Regions from separate parts of the Homo sapiens genome. Here all the other regions are linked to region 3. The links are contacts of gene promoters, found by promoter capture Hi-C in human tissues and cell types (Jung and others, 2019). All regions are on one chromosome and are shown on one strand. The core of a region is centred on a gene start or on the middle of the fragment in contact, and the rest is flanking DNA. Distances in the headings are between cores, read along the strand shown. Region 1 overlaps CAB39 (calcium binding protein 39). Region 2 has its middle 53 kb from the start of SLC16A14. Region 3 holds the start of SP100 (SP100 nuclear antigen).

Region 1 (4,480 bases), core at 342-2,841, 390 kb after region 3:
AAGAGAAGGAAATAAAGGGTATTCAATTAGGAAAAGAGGAAGTCAAATTGTCCCTGTTTGCAGATGACATGATTGTATATTTAGAAAACCCCATCATCTCAGCCCAAAATCTCCTTAAGCTGATAAGCAACTTCAGCAAAGTCTCAGGATACAAAATCAAGGTGCAAAAATCACAAGCATTCTTATACACCAATAACAGACAGAGAGCCAAATCATGACTGAATTCCCATTCACAATTGCTACAAAGAGAATAAAATACCTAGGAGTGCAACTTACAAGGGATGTGAAGGACCTCTTCAAGGAGAACTACAAACCACTGCTCAACGAAATAGAAGAGGACACAAACGGAAGAACATTCCATGCTCATGGATAGGAAGAATCAATATCATGAAAATGGCCATACTGCCCAAGGTAATTTATAGATTCAATGCCATTCCCATCAAGCTACCACTGACTTTCTTCACAGAATTGGAAAAATCTACTTTAAAGTTCATATGGAACCAAAAAAGAGCCCGCATTGCCAAGACAATCGTAAGCACAAAGAACAAAGCTGGAGGCATCACACTACCTGACTTCAAACTCTACTACAAGGCTACAGTAACCAAAACAGCATGGCACTGGTACCAAAACAGAGATATAGACCAATGGAACAGAACAGAGGCCTCAGAAATAACACCGCACACCTACAACCATCTGATCTTTGACAAACCTGACAAAAACAAGAAATGGGGGAAAGGATTCCCTATTTAATAAATGGTGCTGGGAAAACTGGCTAGCCATGTGTAGAAAGCTGAAACTGGACACCTTCCTTACACCTTATACAAAACTTAATTCAAGATGGATTAAAGACTTAAATGTTAGACCTAAAACCATAAAAACCCTAGAAGACAACCTAGGCACTACCATTCAGGACATAGGCATGGGCAAGGACTTCATGACTAAAATACCAAAAGCAATGGCAACAAAAGCCAAAATAGATAAATGGGATCTAAATAAAGAGCTTCTGCACAGCAAAAGAAACTACCATCAGAGTGAACAGGCACCCTACAGAATGGGAGAAAATGTTTGCAATCTACCCATCTGACAAAGGGCTAATATCCAGAATCTACAAAGAACTTAAACAAATTTACAAGAAAAAAATCAAACAACCCCATCAAAAAGTGGGCAAATGATATGAACAGACACTTTTCAAAAGAAGACATTTATGCAGCCAACAGACACATGAAAAAATGCTCATCATCTCTGGTCATCAGAGAAATGCAAATCAAAACCACAATGAGATACCATCTCACACCAGTTAGAATGGCGATCATTAAAAAGTCAGGAAACAACAGGTGCTGGAGAGGATGTGGAGAAATAGGGACACTTTTACACTGTTGGTGGGCGTGTAAACTAGTTCAACCATTGTGGAAGACAGTGTGGCGATTCCTGAAGGCTCTAGAAATAGAAATACCATTTGACCCAGTGATCCCATTACTGGGTATATCCCCAAAGGATTACAAATCATACTACTATGAAGACACATGCACACGTATATTTACTGTTGCACTATTCACAATAGCAAAGACTTGGAACCAACCCAAATGTCCATCAGTGACAGACTGGATTGAGAAAATGTGGCACATATACACCATGGAATACTATGCAGCCTTAAAAAAGGATGCATTCGTGTCCTTTGTAGCGACATGGATGAAGCTTGAAACCATCATTCTGAGCAAACTGTTGCAAGGACAGAAAACCAAACACCGCATGTTCTCACTCATAGGTGCGAATTGAACAATGATGAGAACCCTTGGACACAGGGCGGGGAACATCAAACACCGGGGCCTGTCATGGGGTGGCGGGGTGGGGGAGGGATAGCATTAAGAGAAATACCTAATGTAAATGATGGGTTAATGGGTGCAGCAAACCAACATGGCACATGTATACATATGTAACAAACCTGCATGTTGTGTACATGTACCCTAGAACTTAAAGTATAATTAAAAAAAAAATACAAAAAAAAATGGCTTCTGAGCAGTTTGGAAACTGTACCCACAGCCATCATGGATTCACTAAGAGGAAGTTCAGTCATATTGATCTCATAGGTACTGGTGGATTGGGGGAGTAAAAGGGCATGGCTGCCTAGGTTCACACCAGCTCTGCTGCTGATCTCACCTCCAATCTCTTCATCTGTTCAGATTCAGGTAATAACATGACCATATCAGTTGTTGTGCCTTCACACAGTGTCTATGCAGTAAACATTAGCTGTTAGAATTACTCCTTCATCACAACAAGGATATGCTAGATGTTGTATAATTCTACAAATCTGTTTTCATGGAAACAGTAAAACTGAGCTAGATGGAGTTTCAGTATAGTAATTCACAACCAGTTGTATGTTATATCCATATGCTATTGGCACGTAAATTGCCGTCACCCTGCAGAGAAACTTCTAGCGAATTTCCACGGGGCTTTCCCCACCCAGCTGAACGTTTTTATTAGTGACTGAAATAAAAGGTGACAAGGCATACTTATCAAATGTGTAGATGTTAGCCAGGAAGGGAAGGACAGCAGATAACAGAGGATCCTAAAACTTAGAAAGGTCAGAGAGACCAGAATATAGCAGGATGAAGTTAAATACAGATAACTGAGGTCTTCCACTTGAGGACCCAGCTGTATAAAATATGGGATGGAGGAATAACACAATAATAATAAATACAAAATGAGATACTAAGTATAATAATTACTAGGATGTAGATAATTTCATATCATACTCAACCCTAGGAAGGCAGTGTTGTTATTACTGACTTTACAGATGAGGAAAGTGAAGCCTAGAGATTTTGATTGAAATCAGACAATAAATGGGGAAGTCAGACTGCGGACCCAGGCAGGCAGGCTACCAGAGCCCACTTTGAGTAAACAATTTTGAATACCCCCAATACAATTAAGCAGTATGATAATGTGTTCCCCAGAGCTCCATGTGACCACGTAGTATGTAACCTAAGGAGCTAACTGATAGTCTCACTCCACTATGAGCTTATCAGGTAACAACACATAAATGTGTTCCATTCCAGGCGCTACACTTTAAGAGGCACATAGACAAATAGATGACTTTCAGAAGACAGTAGATGGTGAGGGGGACTCAGAACCCTGTCATTCGAGGAGTGGTTAAAGGAACTGGAAGTATTTAGCCTGGAGAAGAGAAGCCTCGGTAGGGACCTGCCATGAGAGCACTACTTGTATTTGAAGTGGGGTCCCATAGAAAATGGACAAAACATGGATCTGTCAGCTCTGATGGTTCCTGGCATAGTATTTGGGGATAGGTCTGACCCTAGCACAGGGAGAACTTTCTCACTGTAAGAACTCCAGAGGTGAACCACACAACTGGAAAAATTGAGTTTCTTGTCCTTAGACATAATCAAACATCAAGTAGGAAATGGGGCCAAATGGTTTGCCAAGATGAATGTGAAAATAAGCCCCCTGGGTTAGCAGGATTTCTTCAGGGATCCCAGGGCTGTCTTAGTCACATGATGTTTCAGCCCAAACTCAAGCTTTTAGGAAGCTTTTAAATTCAGCCTACCCTAAAAGTTGGCTGCTTAGTCTGCTGGACTTGGGAAATGATCCCTAGTCTTTCTTCCATTATATGAGGGCCTGGCATAGACTGGAATTCAGATAGATGGAAGATGAGGAATCCTTTTATTCTCCCCTCTGCTGACTGACCTAGCAACTCTGCTGGTCTGGGGTCACATGCACCCTAAACTTTGCAGGTCTGCATGCCCTTTGCCCATTATGTTCTATTCTGTTGGTCTACACACACCCCCCTCCCACCCACACTCACCCCAGTTTGAGCTGTCCGAAGTTTTTGGCTGCAGTCACTAGGCTAAGGTTCCTTCTCATCTCTCAGTAGATAGAGGCTCTGCTGATTGTCCTCATCTCCTCCTTTTCCCAGCTTAGTATTCACCTTTTTCTCTGAGCTGGCGCTTAACAGTTGCTCTTTTCCTACTAGTGTTTTACCCCCCCAACCCCCCACCCCAGGCCTTTGAATGACCCTTTTTAACAAAGGGTTTTCATCCTGTTACGTACTGGGTCCACCTGCTCCTTGGGCAGACTCTGAGTGCCCCTTTCAATCGCTCTTACCCCAAAGCCATTGAGATTTGATTTCTGGTTGGCAGCAGTTTCCTGAGTTTCCAGATGGTAACACATAGAATCTCCCCTACATGGGAAGATGTTAGAGGTCCCCCTTTGTGTGGCCCATCTGTGAGCCTCTGGCTGCTTTTGAGATACCTTACAGAGTGAATACTCGCTTCTCTCAAACCTTCAGTAAAAATCTGTTGTGCAACATGTTAACACCTAGAGGGCCTTTGCTTTATAGAGTAGATACTTTGTTCCTGCCTGTTCCTAAGAATCCAACCTCAGTTGAGAGCCAGTGTCTCTCAGGACCCTCCTGCTTGGCACTCTCTTCGTGAGGTTATGACAGAACAGTGAGCAGCAAGTTCCTTCT
Region 2 (3,861 bases), core at 677-3,176, 400 kb before region 3:
AATTATACAATACTGAAAATTTCCAATGGTTTATATATTTAGTGGTATAAGAACAATCTATTAACAATAGAAAATACATATTTTTAATTTATAACTAAATAATAAACATATTTTACTTAATGTCAAGTTCTACTACTACTTTTTTCCCAAACAGGTTGGCATATGTATGCATTAAGCCTCAGCAATATAGAATCCAAAATTTTTTCATTCTTTTTTTTTTTTGAGACAGAATCTTGCTGCTGTCGCCCAGGCTGGAGTGCAATGGTACAATCTCGGCTCACTGCAATCTCTGCCTCCTGGGTTCAAGCAATTCTCCTGCCTCAGCCTCCCAAGTAGCTGGGATTACAGACATGTGCCACCATACCGGGCTAATTTTTGTATTTTTAATAGAGACAGAGTTTCACCATGTTGGCCAGGCTGGTCTCAAACTCCTTACCTCGTCATCCACCCACCTTGGCCTCCCAAAGTGCTGGGATTACAGGCATGAGCCACCGTGCCCGGCCTAAAATGTTTTCTTCTACTGAGTAGGCCCCAGAACTAAGGCTGAGGTGATCATGTGGGGAGGGACTGCAAGCAGGGGTAAGGACAATGCACCAGGTACCACTTGTCATTGTTTTGTGAGCTGCTTGTGTATATAATGGTTATCAGTCTTTATTTATTACCCCAAACTGACTCCTGAAATACCGAAGAATAATATAAAACAACCTTACTAAAAACAGAAAAGTTCATCACAGTTTTTTGCTCTGAGTTTTAGTATAATGACCTCTATCTTCAGTTTGTATTAATATACTGTGAGAGCGTATCCAAGCTTTTCAATTGTGAGTAGTTGGTTTCAACTTGAAATGGATGTCTTTGATGTCATGTTAAAAACATCAAGTGATAAAAAATATCTTGAGACAAATGACAATGGAAACACAATATCAAAAGCAATCTAAGAGGGAAGTTTATAGCAATAAATGCCTATATTAAAAAAGAAGAAAGACCCCAGGCCAGGTGCAGTGGCTCATTCCTCTAATCATGGCACTTTGGGAAGCTGAAACGGGAGGATCCTTTGAGCCCAGGAGTTCAAGACCAGCCTGGGCAATATAAGGAGACCCTGTCTCTACAAAAAATAAAAAGATCAGCCCAGCATGGTGGCACAGGCCTGTGGTCCCAGCTACTTGGGAGGCTGAGGTGAGAGGATCGCTTGAGCCCAGAGGTCGAAGCTCTAGTGAGCTGTGATCACACCCCTGCACTCCAGGCTGGGCAACAGAGTAAGACTGTTTCAAAAAAAAAAAAAAAGGAAAAAGAAATACCCTAAATAAATAGCCTAACATTACATCTCAAGGAGCCAGTAGAAGAACAAACTAAATCCAAAGTTAGCAGAAGGAAGGAAATAAAGATTCGAACAGAAAAAATCAAATAGAGAACAGAAAAACCATAGGAAAAACTCAATAAAACCAAGAGTTAGTTCTTCGAAAAAATAAACAAAATCAGCAAACCCCTAGCTAAACTAAGGAAAAAAGAAGACTCAAATAAAATCAGAGATGAAAGTGGAGCCATTCCAACAGATGCCTCAGAAATAAAAGGAATCATAAGGGACTATTATGAATAATTATATGCCAACAAATTGTATAACCTAGAAGAAATGGATAAGTTCCTAGAAAAGTATAACCCACCAAGATTGAATTGATGAGAAATAGAAAGCTTGAACAGAATAACAAGTGAAGAGATTGAAGAAGCAATTAAAAACCTTCCAGTGAAGAAAATCTCAGGACCAGATGGCTTTCGTGGTTGATTTCTACAAACATACAAAGAAGAATTGTCACCAATACTTCTTAAAGACTTCCGAATAATAGAGCTAGAGGGAATACTTCCAAACATATTTTATGAGACCAGCATCATCTTGATACCAAAGCCAGACAAAAACACAAGACAAGAAAAGAAAACTTCAGGCCAGCATCTCTGATGAGCATTGATGCGAAAATCCTTCATAAAATATTAGAAAACTGAATTCAACAACACAAAAAGATTGTACATCAAGACAAAGTGAGATTTATCTCTGGCATGCAAAGCAGGTTTGACATACACAAATCAATCAGTGTGATACATTATCTTAACAGAATGAAAGAGAAAATACATAATTATCTTAATTGACAAACATTTGACAAAGTTCAGTATCCTTTCTTAATGAAAACTTAACTATGTATAGAAGGAAAGTTCCTCAACATAATAAAGGCAGTTTACAAAGACCTCACAGCTAACAACATAACCAACAAGGAAAAACTGAAAACTTTTTCCACTAAGATCCAGTACAAGGCAGGGATGCTCACATTCACCACTTCTATTCAACATAGTACTGCAAGTGCTTGCTAGCAAGAGCAATCAGACAAGAAAAAGAAAGAAAAACATCCAAGTTGAAAAGGAAGAAGTAAAATTATCTCTATTTGCAGATGACATGATTCTATAGGTAGAAAACCCCAAAGATTTGACAAAAAACTGTAACTAATAAATGAAGTCAGTAAAGTTGCAGGATACAAAATCAACATACAAAAAAATCAGTAGCATATCTATACACAATTCTTTTTCTAGCTGAAAAAGAATTCAAGAAACCAGTCACATTTACGACAGCATCACAAACTAAAATATCTGGCCAGGTGCGGTGGCTCATGCCTGTAATTCCAGTACTTTGGGAGGCCGAGGTGGGTGGATCACCCGAGGTCAGGAGTTCAAGACCAACATGGTGAAACCCTATCTCTGCTAAAAATACAAAAAAATTGCAGGGTGTGGTGGCAGGCGCCTGTAATCCCAGCTACTCAGGAGGCTGAGGCAGGAGAATTGCTTGAACCCAGGAGGCAGAGGTTGCAGTGAGTCAAGATTGTACCACTGCACACCAGCCTGGGTGACAGAGCAAGACTGTCAAAAAAAAAAAAAAAGAAAAAACAAACTTAAAATATCTGGGAACAAATTTAGTCAAGGACATGAAGGATTGATACACTGAAAACTATAAAACTGATGAAAGAAATCAAAGAAGACACAAATAAATACATATATTCATGGATGGGAAAATTTAATATTGTTCAAATGTCTGTATTACCTAAAGAAATATGCAGATTTAATACAGTGCCTATCAAAATTCCCAAGGACATTCTTCACAGAAATAGAAAAAAAAAAAAAAAAAAGCCTGGGTAGTATAACAAGACCCTGTCTCTTAAAGAAAAAAAAGTTAAAAATTAGCTGGGTGTGGTGGTGCATGCCTGCAGTCCCACATACCATGGAGCTGAGGCAGGAGGATTGTTTGAGCCTAAGAGTTCAAGGTTGCAGTGAGCTATGATCATGCTACTGCACTCCAGCCTGGGCAACAGAGCAAGGTCTTGTCTCTAAGTAAAATAATAAAGAAAAAAATCCTGAAATTAATATAGAACCACAAAATACTTAGAATAGCCAAAGCAATACTGAGAGAAAATGTTTGAGGCCTCACACTTCCTGATTTAAAATTATATTATAGAGCTATACTAATCAAAACACTATAGTACTGGCAGAAAAACGGAAACATAGACCAATGGAACAAAATTGAAAGCCCAGAAATAAGTCCAAACACATAGGATCAATTAATTCTCAACAAGGGCACCAAGAGGACAAAATGGGGATAGGATAATGTCTTCAATAAATGGTGCTGGGAAAACTAGATTGCCACTGCAAAAGAATGAAATTTGACCCTTACCTTACACCATACATAAAACTCAACTCAAAATGGATAAAAGACCTAAATGTAAGACCTGAAACCATAAAACTTCTAGGCGAAAACTCCTCCTCCTGGGCTCAGTCCTTGACATAGGCCTTGGCAATGATTTTTTGGATATCATACCAAAAAACCAGGCT
Region 3 (4,039 bases), core at 1,136-3,635:
AACAACTATACACAGGTACTTTCCATTTCCCATTGCCCCACAGAAAAGGTGGGGGTTTGCAAAGGGAGTAGCCTCTGGACCTTTTGTTACTTAGGCATGGAAAGTTAGGGTTTTCCTTTCAATTTAGTTCTAGGAAGTTAGCATGAAATGGCCTTAGGTTCCCTGCCTCCAGACCCTATTCTCCTGCCTCACCCACACCACTGAAGTCTGAACTGAAGCTGCTCTTGGTGAAATGTAAGAGGCCCATCATCTGGCTGGGTGCCCTGCCTGTGGTCCTTCCTCAATCACTGCCTCCCCTGCTTTTGAGTTTTCCAGGCTCCAGTAACTGGAACTACTTCTTGACAACAGAAATATTCCCTATTGCCTGTGCTCCTTGCAGCCATGGAAAATGCCCCAGGAGTTCCATTATTTCCTTCTAAACAGTCCAGCAGGATTTTTAGCTCACATGTCTTCTTAATGTGGTCCCGTCCCTTTCCCAACCCCAGTGTGTCTGACATTGTTTTCTGGATCAGAGAAACTTTGCTTTCTTCACAGAGGCCTACAGATTCTCCATATACCAGCGGAGCATGGTGCATGCTCATCTGTCTCCAACCTCATCTGATGAGAACATCTCCTTCCCTGCTGCCAGGAGGTGCCCCAGCATGGGCATGTCTGCCCGTGAAGTTCAACCCGTAAGGAATTCCCTGCCAGCCTGTGGCTCATTGGTCTGGAATTCCAGGTGCTGCTCTTAGTAGCCCCTAAGCACATCCAGGGAAAAGCTGGCACGTTTATGTCAGTGCCACTCAATGGCCTGAGCCTGCCTGCTGCCCAGAGGCAGCGAGAGGGGAGAACGTGAACCACACCAAAGCATACTGTGTGGTCCATGCCAGGACTTCTTGGGACCAATGTGCCTCATGGAGACTGGGATCAAAGGACAGCTGTGCCCAAAAGAGGCTCAGCTTACCAGCCCTTCAGCCCCATAAAGTCGGGGAGTCATGGGGGGTAGGAAGAATGAGAGAAAGAGAGAGAGACCTACAGGTGAGAGAAAGAGAGAGAGACCTACAGGTGTGCAGTGCCTGATAGAAACAGTGACCTTCGCCCACCGGCAAAGCTGTCCTCACCAATGTCCTGGTGCCTGGTCATTCACTCATGGGGAAAAGAAGAGCAGAAGTAGAGTGAGGGTAGAAAGCCCCTTCCCCCACATTTTCAAATGTACCTGGACAAGCATCCTTATTCACAGCTGGAAGAAGTTGGATTCAGTAGAATGCCATTTGGAAAACACCGTTCTGAAGTGCCATCCCCTCTGGCCCCTGAATCCTCACCAGCTTCCACCCTCTGCTCACCTTGGGCCCTGGATTCCAGCGCCCCCAGGCTCCCAGCTGCCTCCCTGTCTCTGCCCCATGGTCCGGCCTGGAGTTCTGGTCCCTGGTTGTGTCCTGTGGCCCCATTCTCATGCGCCCTTTGCTTCTGTTTCTTTACCTATGACTTTATACTGATGTAAAGCGAGTCTTCTCGGTCGCTTCTTGTTCTCTGAGGAATGATGAATCAGAATCTAAATGGAAAATCTGGGCAGAGATAGAACCTCCCGCGGGAGCCACCCTGCCCTTCCATGTCTAGATCATCTGGGTTCCAACCTCCATCCTCCTCCAATGAGAAGCTTTTGTTCTCTCAAGATTCCAGTGACTTCTCCGAAGCTTAGGTGTCTCTTCACCCCTGGCTGTTCCAAGGCGGCCCCATAGTCAAGATTCCTTAAACCCTTGCCCCTTAAAATGTTTGCCTTTCTTACCATGCTGGCTCCAGCCTCTGGTCCCAGGGGTGTGGAGAGTTCTCTCTTACTTCTGGCTGATTTCCAGGAAGGCTAAGCACACTCTCCCCAGGTTATAATGCTGAGCATTTTGGTTCTCTCCAGCCCTGGGTCCCAATGTCAGGACCTACCTTAGTCCAGTCCATGCTCTCCCATGGGCCTGAGAGAAGATTTGAGGTTTCTGGCTTTCCCTCCAACCCTCCAACTCCCACCCCAAGCCATGTCAGCAAGGGGAAGGGGCAAACATGGAGTTTCCCCCCCAACTCCCATGTAAACTATGCCCCCTCTTAGAGGGCAGAGCAGCTAAGGACAATTTTGTTTCAAGGACATTTTTTTTGGCTGTGTATTGCACAAACAAGTGGACACCCGGGAGCTGGCCCTGCTCGTCCCCTGGGCCCTCCTTCCCTGGTCCTGCAGGTCTTGCTGCTTGTCAGGCCTCTCCTCCAACCCTCTGCCACATTTCAGAAAAGCTGAGAATCCCTTGGAGTGAAAAAGGAGGAGAAACACAGTGTCCGTAGCCCAGAAGGAGGTTAAATACTTTCACTTCTCTTTTCCCCATTTGGGCGGAGCCCTTTCTGAGTCAGTCTGTCGGCCGACTTCCTGCTTGGGGCCTGGGCAGCCACACTGCACGCAGGCTGGGCCGACTGAGGGGCTCAGAGGCCAGGCTCTGAGGCCCACGCAGGGCCTAGGGTGGGAAGATGGCAGGTGGGGGCGGCGACCTGAGCACCAGGTGAGTCTTTATCTCCCTTCCTTTAACCTTTATCTCTGGCTATATTGCAGCTTTCATGCCTTTAGTTCAGTTTGTGCCTAAGGCTTCACTTTAATCCTTCTTTGCAAGAACATAGGTATGCGATGTTATATAATGAAATGAAAGACAAGTAATGAGGAAATCAGATTTTTTAAACAGGAGCAGGACAGCTGTTGGTGTGAGTTCAACTTGCCATAACACACGTGACTTTCTTGTTTTGGATTTACTGCTCAGCTGACCGGGACACTCTAAACATAGCAGTTGTTGGTGGCTGGGATTAACTATTTCCTCATGATCTGTGAACCCTTTCACCCCTCAGCCTTCCTCTACCTTCAAATATGTCATGTCAAAAAAGGTGCTTTAGAAAATAAACACTCCAGGGTAAACACCTGGCTTACTTTTAAACATCAGACGCTGTGGTCTCACCTGTCCTGGCAAGGGGCCTCTGCCGGCTGTTCCCATGACTGGCTCAGGGTCTGAGTTCTTATTCCATCAACCTTGATCAAAAGAAGGAAAGGGAAGAAAAAGGCCCAGGGTGACAAACGGCTAAATATTTTCATTTTTACCTCAATTTCCTGTCCCAAGATGGGGGATACCTCTGACCAGAAAAGAGAAGGAAATCCTAACTTTTCTCTAGTAGTGAGTTGAGAAATAACATTACTTAATCTTTTAAATTTTTTAATACAAAAGAAATACACTGTACATTATTGTTCATAAAATTTAAAACAGTGGAGAAGTATATTAAGGAAAAAGTCATCTTTGCCACTCAGCCATTCTTGTAGCTTCTCTTCCCAGTCCTGTGAAGAGTCTTGGGCACAGCTTTTCTTATATTTTTCTATGCATTTATATATCTAATGCATTTTTTGTAAATACGTAATTTATGTTCTTGATTTATAATAAATTATATTACATGTGCTAGTCTGCATTTTGCATTTTTACTTATTTTAATAGTGGAAAACTTAGAGATCTTTTAACCTTAATACATATAGATCTGCCTCATTCTTTTTATACATGCTATTCCATAGAATTGATATATGATAATTATTTATTCTCCAATTGAAGGACATTTAGATTGTTTTTAAATTGTTCACATTTACCAATAAGCTATCATAACAATGATTATATATTTCTTTTTGGGTTTTTACATCTAAACAAATATTTATCTTGTCTCTAAACCTTAAAAATGTAATTATTGAGGCAAAGGGTCCAGTTATTTACTTGGTCCTGCCAAATTGTCTTTCTAGGAGGCTGAATGAATGTATTTCACCAGTAGCAAATGAGATGAACCATCTTCCTGCACACAGCCACGATTTGCAAAGGTGATGAATGAAGAGTTATGTCTTGTTTTAATTTGTATTTTCCTTACGATGGGAAAATTGATCAGCTTTTCATGTTTCTTGGCCATTTAAATTCCCTCTTCTATAAATTGCTTGTTTGTTTTTTGCCAATATGATTCCGTTGAGGTGTTTGTCCTTTTTTTCGTGATATGGGAGAATTCACTAAATATT

Evidence for each region. The method cuts DNA at HindIII sites, captures the fragments that hold promoters and counts their contacts. A contact is called where the count stands out against the background at its distance.
Region 1: a fragment that was not itself captured here is called in contact with the fragment with the promoter of SP100 in region 3 in 1 of the 25 tissues and cell types used here (spleen).
Region 2: a fragment that was not itself captured here is called in contact with the fragment with the promoter of SP100 in region 3 in 1 of the 25 tissues and cell types used here (mesenchymal stem cells).

What each region holds. Positions count from the first base shown.
Region 1 is chr2:230,803,417-230,807,896 of GRCh38, forward strand. All of the region lies in intron 5 of CAB39 (calcium binding protein 39), which reads left to right. Among named protein-coding and RNA genes, the nearest start is that of ITM2C, 59 kb to the right of the region's middle. The HindIII fragment of the contact is 3,888 bases long and covers 1-3,535 here.
Region 2 is chr2:230,013,794-230,017,654 of GRCh38, forward strand. No RefSeq gene overlaps it. Among named protein-coding and RNA genes, the nearest start is that of SLC16A14, 53 kb to the right of the region's middle. The HindIII fragment of the contact is 3,987 bases long and covers 1-3,861 here.
Region 3 is chr2:230,413,816-230,417,854 of GRCh38, forward strand. SP100 (SP100 nuclear antigen) reads left to right here and starts at 2,386. Exons shown (of 29, transcript NM_001080391.2): 1 at 2,386-2,513; 2 at 3,776-3,850. The coding sequence starts at 2,482. RefSeq lists an enhancer at 2,033-2,552. The HindIII fragment of the contact is 8,532 bases long and covers 1-4,039 here.